Regions from separate parts of the Homo sapiens genome. Here region 2 is linked to region 1. The links are contacts of gene promoters, found by promoter capture Hi-C in human tissues and cell types (Jung and others, 2019). All regions are on one chromosome and are shown on one strand. Each heading gives the region's core, a stretch centred on a gene start or on the middle of the fragment in contact. The rest is flanking DNA. Distances are from core to core; before and after follow the strand shown.

Region 1 (3,981 bases), core at 1,101-3,600:
CCCTCCAACATTCACACGTGTGTGAGAATCATATTCCTAACATTCCGACCCACACCAAGCCCATATCCCTAGCTACCTCCTCCACCTGACTCTCACACCCCAGGCCAATATTGCCCCAACCCTAAAACACCCTAGGGCCAGGAACCAGGCAACTAGAGACCACCCCAGCCACCCAGAGCCCACCAGAATTGTCCAAACGAAGCTGCTTCCCTGCCCTGCCTGGCCTTTCCCATGGAAACCCCAAGAAAGCCTCGGGCCCTTGGCCTTAAGGACTTTGGGTTGTGTTTCTTTTTAATCTTACATTCAGGGTAAAACATCTTTTCTTCATTTCCTTGAGAAAAAAGAAATCTGCAAAAGATACTGCAAAACTTTCCCTAGAGAAAAAAGCCACACAATGCAACCCCGCTGGGGACACCGCTGGTTTGCCGAGAGACTCATTTTAAACAGAGGCAGAAAGTTCGCCTGTGATATTTCAGCTGGAAATCAAGAAGATATTAGTTGAACATATTGCTTAGGGAGGAATAATAAGGCTGACATTTGCTTTCGTAGGAATTTGTTGTGCAAATTAACCTTGCCAGTGCACGGAAAGGCAAAGTCACCTGGCTTCCTCTGGCTTCCCTAGCAGCCGGGAAATGCAGGCAGGGGGGACGCTGCCCCAGAGAGGAGCAAATGCTCCTGCACTCAGGGTGCCTCATGGCAGAGGCTTGCGAAGAACCCCAAACTGTCAGCGATGGGGTTCAGCTGCTCCTCCAGACGGCTGACGGCTCAGAATCAGGGCTGTCCCAGGTCTTTCTTGGCTGGAACCTGAGCCACAGAGTGTCTTTGTGCACAGGAATCTGTGCAGCCCTATGGGTCAGAGCAGGGCCCTTCCCAGGCAGCTCCACTCACCCTACCTGGGTGGCCCTAAGCCTCACTAGCGACACAGGCAAGTGCCTCCTGGCCGAGTCTTGGGAATTGGAGGGGGCAAGCTCAGCTCCAGAAACAGCAGCCACCATCTGCCCTCATGAATTCACAACACCCAAAAAGGCAGAGAGGGACTCTCCGCCCCACCAGCCCATGGTGAGACCAAGATGCAGAGCTGGAGCCGGCCGCTCCGCACAGACACAGCTCCCCCGCTCCAGCTCGGCACTCCCAGATAAAGCAGGCACCTCCTGACTTCAGAAATAAAACTTTTTTGTCACTCCTTTGTGTGTTTCTGTGGAGAGAGTTGGGTTTCATCCACAAAGAAGCCCTGGTGGCCAGTCCCATGTGGAAAGGAAGGCTGGAGCAGGACCCATTGTAGGCGGTGGGCTCGCCCACTTCGGGGACCCCCTGCAGCTTGTGGAAGGGCCTAAAGTCCCCTCCAGTTTGAAGGGAAACTTTTCCCCTTTCTCCACCCTGTGAAACAAGAGTGGAGGTAAATTTGGACGGAAAGGAGTCAAGAGCCCATCCTAACAGTTTTGGCTGAGCCCTGTGGGGCTTGTTCAACACCTATGGGTAGGGGCAGGGTGTCTGCACCTGCTCAGTTGGTCCACGGGTACAAGCACAGTAGGTCAGGCTGGATCCCATGGGTGTGCAGGCCTCATGCTGTGCCCAGCCACGCGCCACCACCTGGCCCACATCAGTGGGCATGTGTGCTCTGGGGACGTGGTACTAGGCATTGTTTACAGGGCCGAGGGTCGTGGGGTCTGTGCTCATGCGCGTGTGGGGTGTGGAGCGGCACGAGTGTGTGTGGTGTGTGCGTCCTCTGTGTATAGTTCCATTCCTTGGGATTACTGGGTCCCATGATTTGGGGCGGGCAGTCAAGGACCATGGAAAGCATGTCTTTCCTATTTTGTCCTCAAACTGAGATCCCCATGATGCCCAAGCTCGGGGTGCAGACTTGGCTCAGAGCAGAGTCAACTCAAACACTGACAGGTGACAGAAGAACTTTCTGGGTTAAGGAGGGTGAGTGCAGAAAGACGGCCAGATGGGGTGCCGGGTCAGGAAGGGTTTGGAGAGCTGGCAGGGAGGAGAGACTCACCGCAAAATAGGCAGTGTCCCCATCGGTCCAGAGCACCACGAGATCTGCGTTCTCAAGCTCGCCACGGTCGGACATCCCAAACAGGACGCCAGCCTTGAGCCTCCGCACCAGGAGCTGGAAATGGATGGCCTCCTGGGTGTAGCTGACATTCCATGAGAGCTCCAGGGACCCCTCCGGGTCCAGGGGGATGTGATAGGGGAGGGGGCTCTCACGGGGAGCCGAGCCCTGCAGTGCGGCCACCAGGATGACCAGGAAGATGGCCACTGCTGTGCTGTACATGAAGGCTGCCTCCCGCATGCTGGGGCCGGGCAGGCTGGCCCAGCGACTGAGGGCGGGCATGGCTGGGGTGAGCTCTCTGGTCCCACCTGGCCATTTATGCCCTGGTCCTGAATGGGGTGGGTCCAGGCAGCACGGGTAATCACATTTGTCTAGCGGGGAATCCAATTTTCCCTCCCACAAGCTTGCGCCCCAGGCCAAGCACTCAGCCTGCTGCCCTCCTCTAATTGGCACTAATGACACATGGACGTCATCAGTGGGAGTTGAAGTAGACAGGCGGATGCTGTCCCTTCTGAGATGGCTCTGAAGAGCTGTCCCAAAAGCAGATGCACCCTGCAGCCAAGAGGCCTTTCAGACACCCTCTGGCCAGGCACCAGCTGACTGCCTCACAGGCTGTCTGGCCCAGTCCCCAGTGGGATGGGGTCTGCGTCGCCTCTACCCACGGATGAGCAGACTGAGGTCCGAGGAGCTGCTCCAGGCTGACCAGTGAAGGATAGGCCCGTAGCCACTGCAGGCCTGGCCTAGCGAGCAGAGCCGTTTGTACAATACTAGCAGGTGGGCCCATTTCAAACCAAAAATAAGACAATCTCCAAATAGTCCCTGTGTTTAGACACTCTCTCCACGGCCTGCTCTTCCCACTTTTGTCTCCTCTCAATTTTTCCACAGCCTCCAGCTGGTACCACTGCTGCTCCAGAAGGCGCGAGAGCATCATAGGGAGTGGGGGACATGGGCGTGGGGTGCATTGCTGGGGACAGACGGAGCTGGAGCTGCACAGGGGATAGGCAGGCTGCAGGGTGCACTGCTGGGGGTGACAGCCTTTAAGGAAAAGAGGGTGAGTGACAGGCCTGCTCCCCTGTCTCTGAAGCTCCCAAACCCACAGCTTCCTCTTGCCCAGAGCAGATCTGGCCTGAATTTGAAGCCTCTCAGGGCAGCTGGCCGCAGCCCTGCTTCTCCCACACCTGCCACAGGACCTTTGCCATCATCCACCCGTGGGCCCGAGGGTCAGTCTCACCACGGCACCTCTCCCTCCTGTCCTCTCCCACAAGTAGACTGAGGGCAGCTGCCTTCAGGACATTCTGCTTGATCCCTCCAGCTCCACCCCCCAGGCTGGGTTGACAGATCTCTCCAGCTGGACTAGAAGCTGTCCCTCCTCCCCAGCCTCCTCCCTCCCTTCCTTCCTTTTCCCTCCTGTTTCTCGTCTCTCTGGAGAAACCCAGAATCTAGCCTTAGGGGCACATTCATGTCATAGGCTGACAGCAACATTTAGGTCCTTAAATACCCATGACAGCAGGTCTGGAGGCTGCTTCAGCTCTGAGCTCTACGCTGTAGAAAGGAATGACTGTGTCTTTGCACGAACGTGAAATTTGGAGAAAGTGCCAGCCTTCCCCTGGCCCTCGCAGGCAGTGCTCTCTGCCCCACAGTGGCCAGGCCATCCTGCAAAGCCAAGCTCAGGCCATGAGCCCCTCCCCACTGATTGCACCCAGAGGGGCACCGTTCGCCCCCACCCACAGCCCAGGCAGGTGAGGTCCAAGTGCATAATCACCTGTGCAATAGAGTGTGGCATTGGTGTGAAATTGTCTCCCAGGCCAGGGGAAAGACACTCTTGGGAGTTCTCTGGTGAGCCTTGGGAAGGGTCTCAGCCTCCGAAGGCCTGGCTTTCCCATCAGGACATGCCACCTCCGTCGCCTGAGAGCACCTCACCT
Region 2 (4,077 bases), core at 218-2,717, 38 kb before region 1:
TGGGACTACAGGCACATGCCACCAAACCCAGCTAATTCTAAAATTTTTTTTGTAGAGACAGGGCCTCCCTATGTTGCCCAGGCTGGTCTCAGACTCCTGGGCTCAAGCAGTCCTCCTGCCTTGGCCTCCCCAAGTACTGGGATTACAGGTGTGAGCCACTATGCCCTGCTTGTTCATCCTCTGCTGATGGACACTTGGGTTGCATCTACCTCTTGGCTATTGTGAATAACCCTGTGAATATGAGTGTGCAAATACCTCTTCGAATCCCTCCTTTCAATTCCTTTGGGTGTATACCCAGAAGTGGGGTTGCTGGATCACATGGAAGTTGTATTTTTAAAGTTTTAAAGAACTGCCACCCTGTTTTCCACAGTGCTTGCACCATTTTCCATTTCCACTAACAATACACAAGGGTTCCAGTTTCTCCACATCCTCACCAACACTCGTTACTTTCTTTTTCTTGTTTTTATAATTGTCATCCTCATGGGCACAAAGTGATAACTCACTGTGACTTGGGTTTGCGTGCCTCTGATGGGTAGTGACGTGGAGCATCTTTTCCTGGGCCTGTTGGCCATTTGCATTTGCTTTTGAGAATTGTCGATTCAAGTCCCTTGCCTATTTTTTTTTTTTTTAAATGGAGTCTCACTCTGTTGCCCAGGCTGGAGTGCAGTGGCACAATCTCGGCTCACTGCAGCCTCCACCTCCTTGATTCAAGTGATTCTCCCACCTCAGCCTCCTGAGTAGCTGGGACTACAGGCATGCACCACCATGCCCAACTAATTTTTTTTTTAAATATTTTTAATGGAAACAGGGTTTCACTATGTTGGCCAGGGTGGTCTCGAGCTCCTGACCTCAGATGGTCCTCCCACCTTGGTCTCCCAAAGTGCTGGGATTACAGGCATGAGCCACCACACCCGGCCCCTTTGCCCATTTTTAATGGTGGTATTTGACTTTTTATTGTTAAGTTGTAGGAGTTCTTTGTTCTGTCTGGGTAGAAGGCCCTTATCATATGTAAGACTTGCAAATGTTCTCTCCCATCCCGTGGGTTGCCTTTTCACTCTTTGTTAGCGTCCTTCGATGCACAAATGTGCTTGTGATCAATGTCCTTCCATCTGACTTTTGCTTTTGTGACCTGTGCTTTTGGTGTCCTCTCCAGGAAACCCTTGCCATTTCCAACTCCCCATGCCTTCTTCCAGAGGTTGTACAGCTACAGATCTTACCCTTGTGTCTTTGTTCCATGTCTAGTTAATTTTTGGACAAGATGTAAGGTACGCGACCAGCTTCTCGCTTCTGCATGTGGCTATCGGATCCTCCCAGCACCACTTGTTGGAGACTCTTTCCCCATGAGTGGCCTCAGCGCCCTTGTAGAGATCATGTGAACACATACGTGACGGTTCATTTGACTTCACTTTCTCCAACTTTGCTGATTTCGTTTAATAGTTTCAGCAGGCTTTTTTGGCATGGAATTTTCAGGATGTGGAAAGGGTTTAAACAAAACCTGACATAAGACCCTTCCTGCTGATCTTCCATAATTCTGTGACTCCATCCACGGCCAGGAGTTCCATCTTGCAATTTGGGGCTTTCAGAGCCCACCTGAGTCAGAGTGGCCAAGGACGACGTGCCGGGACCATGTGCTTGGTGCACACGCACCCAACCCTGGCCGATGGGTCAGAGCAGGGCACTGAGGCCAAGTGGGCCGACCCCCATGGGCGCTGGGAGACGCTGTTCCCACCCAAGCCCGGCTGACTGGGAGCCCGTGTTTGTTCTGGATGTCCTCGCTTGGCCTGTCCCTTTCCTTGTGGGTCCCCACTTGGAAGAACTGGGGACTGATCCCACTCCACTGCTTTGGTGGAGAAAAATGTAAGACGCCTCAACAACTAGTGATTCCGTGAACTTAGAGAGGCCCCTGGATTTCCCCAGCCTCCCTCTCTTTGGCAGGAAGCAGGTGTGGCCCCCGTTTTGCTCCTTCGTTCAGGGACTGTTTCTTGGGCCAGGCTGTGCACGGCGTACAATGGAGACCCAGACCCAGCTGACCCCATCCTCGCTGAGCTGCTGGAGCCAGGAAGGATGGGACTGCTCCCTCCCTTCCACCCGTGAACTCCAACCCTCTCCCTGAGCTGGGTGACGGGTCTTTGTCTGAACAGGGATCCGCAATTGGAGGGCCGTGCATAGGTGCACTTTAAAAATTATTTTTCCTGTTTCAAAATGAGATTGGTTTTGAGCCCCGAGCTCCTCCATAGGCTATCTAAAATTAGAACCCCGTTGACAAGGCAATCTTTGTCAGGGGCCTACGGCTTGCACCAGGGAAGCAGGGAAATGTCAACAGTATATTTTCTGTGTCAATTTTGAGTTTTTTAGGAGGCCTGGGCAAATGGCAACTTAGAGCAAATTTGCGCTATTTCCAAAGCTTTTAGAATCCAGCCCCTCGGCGGCCATGTGATTAAAGTGTCAGGTTTATAAGGAGCTGCCCCTGTGGTTGGGAGAGCGGCCTCTGCCCTCCTTCCCACAGGCGTATCCCAGCGGGAGCTGTACAGGGAGGGCCTTTCCACTCAGAGCAGTGGTGGAATCAGCTCCTCCGCTGTCTGGGATCCTGCAGTCAGCCTAGCTCTCCCCATTCCTTTTGTGAGCTCTCTGGTCCCAGGGCTGAGCACTCAGGCCTTCCCATGGGAGTCAGTGGGTTCAACGGTTTGCCTGAAGGTGAGGACGCAGACTCCAGTTACTGGGTGTGGACGTGCCACGCACCTGAACCAAGTGTGTGAGGAAAATCACGCCTCCTGTGCAAGAAGCCCCCCATGCTGTCTGTGGCCTCCACGCAGCCGAGTGCTAGCCTGTTGTGCAGGCGTGCGGGACACACCCTCCCAAAGACACCAGCTGTCCTCAGCGGAGCAGGGTGTGCCTAGGCCCTGCTCAGTGCCTCTGGGAGCCTCTGTGTCCGCCTCAGCCCACAGACATTACTGACCGTGTTCCCACCGTTGCAAGGGCCGTGGAGGGACGAGATGAAGCTTAGCCCAGAGCACCCGATAATCGGCACTGTCACTTCTGCAGGGCTTGAGCCATCGTGTCTTTCACAGTCAGGTATCCACAGCCCCACAGGCCTTTCTCTCCTGCCTCCCACCATGTCCGCTGCCCAACGCTGGGCCTTTGCACCTCACCTGGAAGGCCCGTCTGCGACGGCAATCTCCTGGTCTGCCTGCTAGCCTGGTCTGGCGTCCCAGGCAGGGGTCTTGCTTTCCGGCCCCTTCCTCACCCAGAACATGGTTGTGCTCACGGCCGAGCTGAGTCCTGAAGGGCAGAGGCTATGGCTGTCTTCAGAGCCCGGTGCTGGGCCGGGGCTGACCAGAATTGGTGGGTGACGGGCTCCTCGGACAACGGGCTTGGCACCTGGCTGTCCCCTTCCCTGATGCCTCTATCCCCACCTGGTGCAGCCAGGGTGGTGTCCCCTGAGCTGGGCTGCTGCCTTCCCCCTGCTCCTCGCAGACGTGTCTCAGAGCTTCTGAAACAGATAAAGCTGGGCTCCCAACCCCATCTTACAGACAAGGAAGGGTGAGAAGCTTGCCCCAGGTCACTGCTGTGGACTGAATGGTGACCCCCAAAACATATATCTACATCCTAACTCGTCAGAACCTGTGAATGGGGCCTTGTTTGGAAATAGGATCTTTGCAGGTGTAATTAAGGTCAGGATCTCCAGATGATATTATCTAGGGCTAGGGAAGGTCCTAAGTCCAGTGACAAGTGTCCTTAGAAGACAGAGACACAAAGGGGAGGCTGTGAGGGCTGAGGCAGAAATCGCAGTGGTGCAGCCACAAGCCAAGGGGTGCCGGGAGGTGCTCGGGAGGTGCTCGGGAGGAGGCTCCCTCGAGAGTGGAAGGGTCGTCTCCGGAGCCTGCAGAGGAAGCGTGGCTTGCCCACATGGTGATTTTGGATTTTGAGCCTGCAGAACCGAGAGAGAGTTTACTGTTATTGTTTTAAGCCACCAGTTGTGGTCGTTTGTTATGACAGGTAGGAAACTAACCCAGTCCTGGAGAAGACCTGAGGTCTGCAGATAGCAAACCTGCCATCTCCCCTTCCCAAAGGTGACCC

Evidence for each region. Contacts are between HindIII fragments. The study calls those that stand out against the background at their distance.
Region 2: a fragment that was not itself captured here is called in contact with the fragment with the promoter of DBH in region 1 in 2 of the 25 tissues and cell types used here (IMR-90 fibroblasts and dorsolateral prefrontal cortex).

What each region holds. Positions count from the first base shown.
Region 1 is chr9:133,634,732-133,638,712 of GRCh38, reverse strand. DBH (dopamine beta-hydroxylase) reads right to left here and starts at 2,350. Exons shown (of 12, transcript NM_000787.4): 1 at 2,003-2,350. The coding sequence starts at 2,341. RefSeq lists an enhancer at 350-1,085. The HindIII fragment of the contact is 16,885 bases long and covers 1-3,981 here.
Region 2 is chr9:133,671,902-133,675,978 of GRCh38, reverse strand. The region is part of intron 17 of SARDH (sarcosine dehydrogenase); the gene reads left to right. Among named protein-coding and RNA genes, the nearest start is that of DBH-AS1, 17 kb to the right of the region's middle. The HindIII fragment of the contact is 3,615 bases long and covers 1-3,274 here.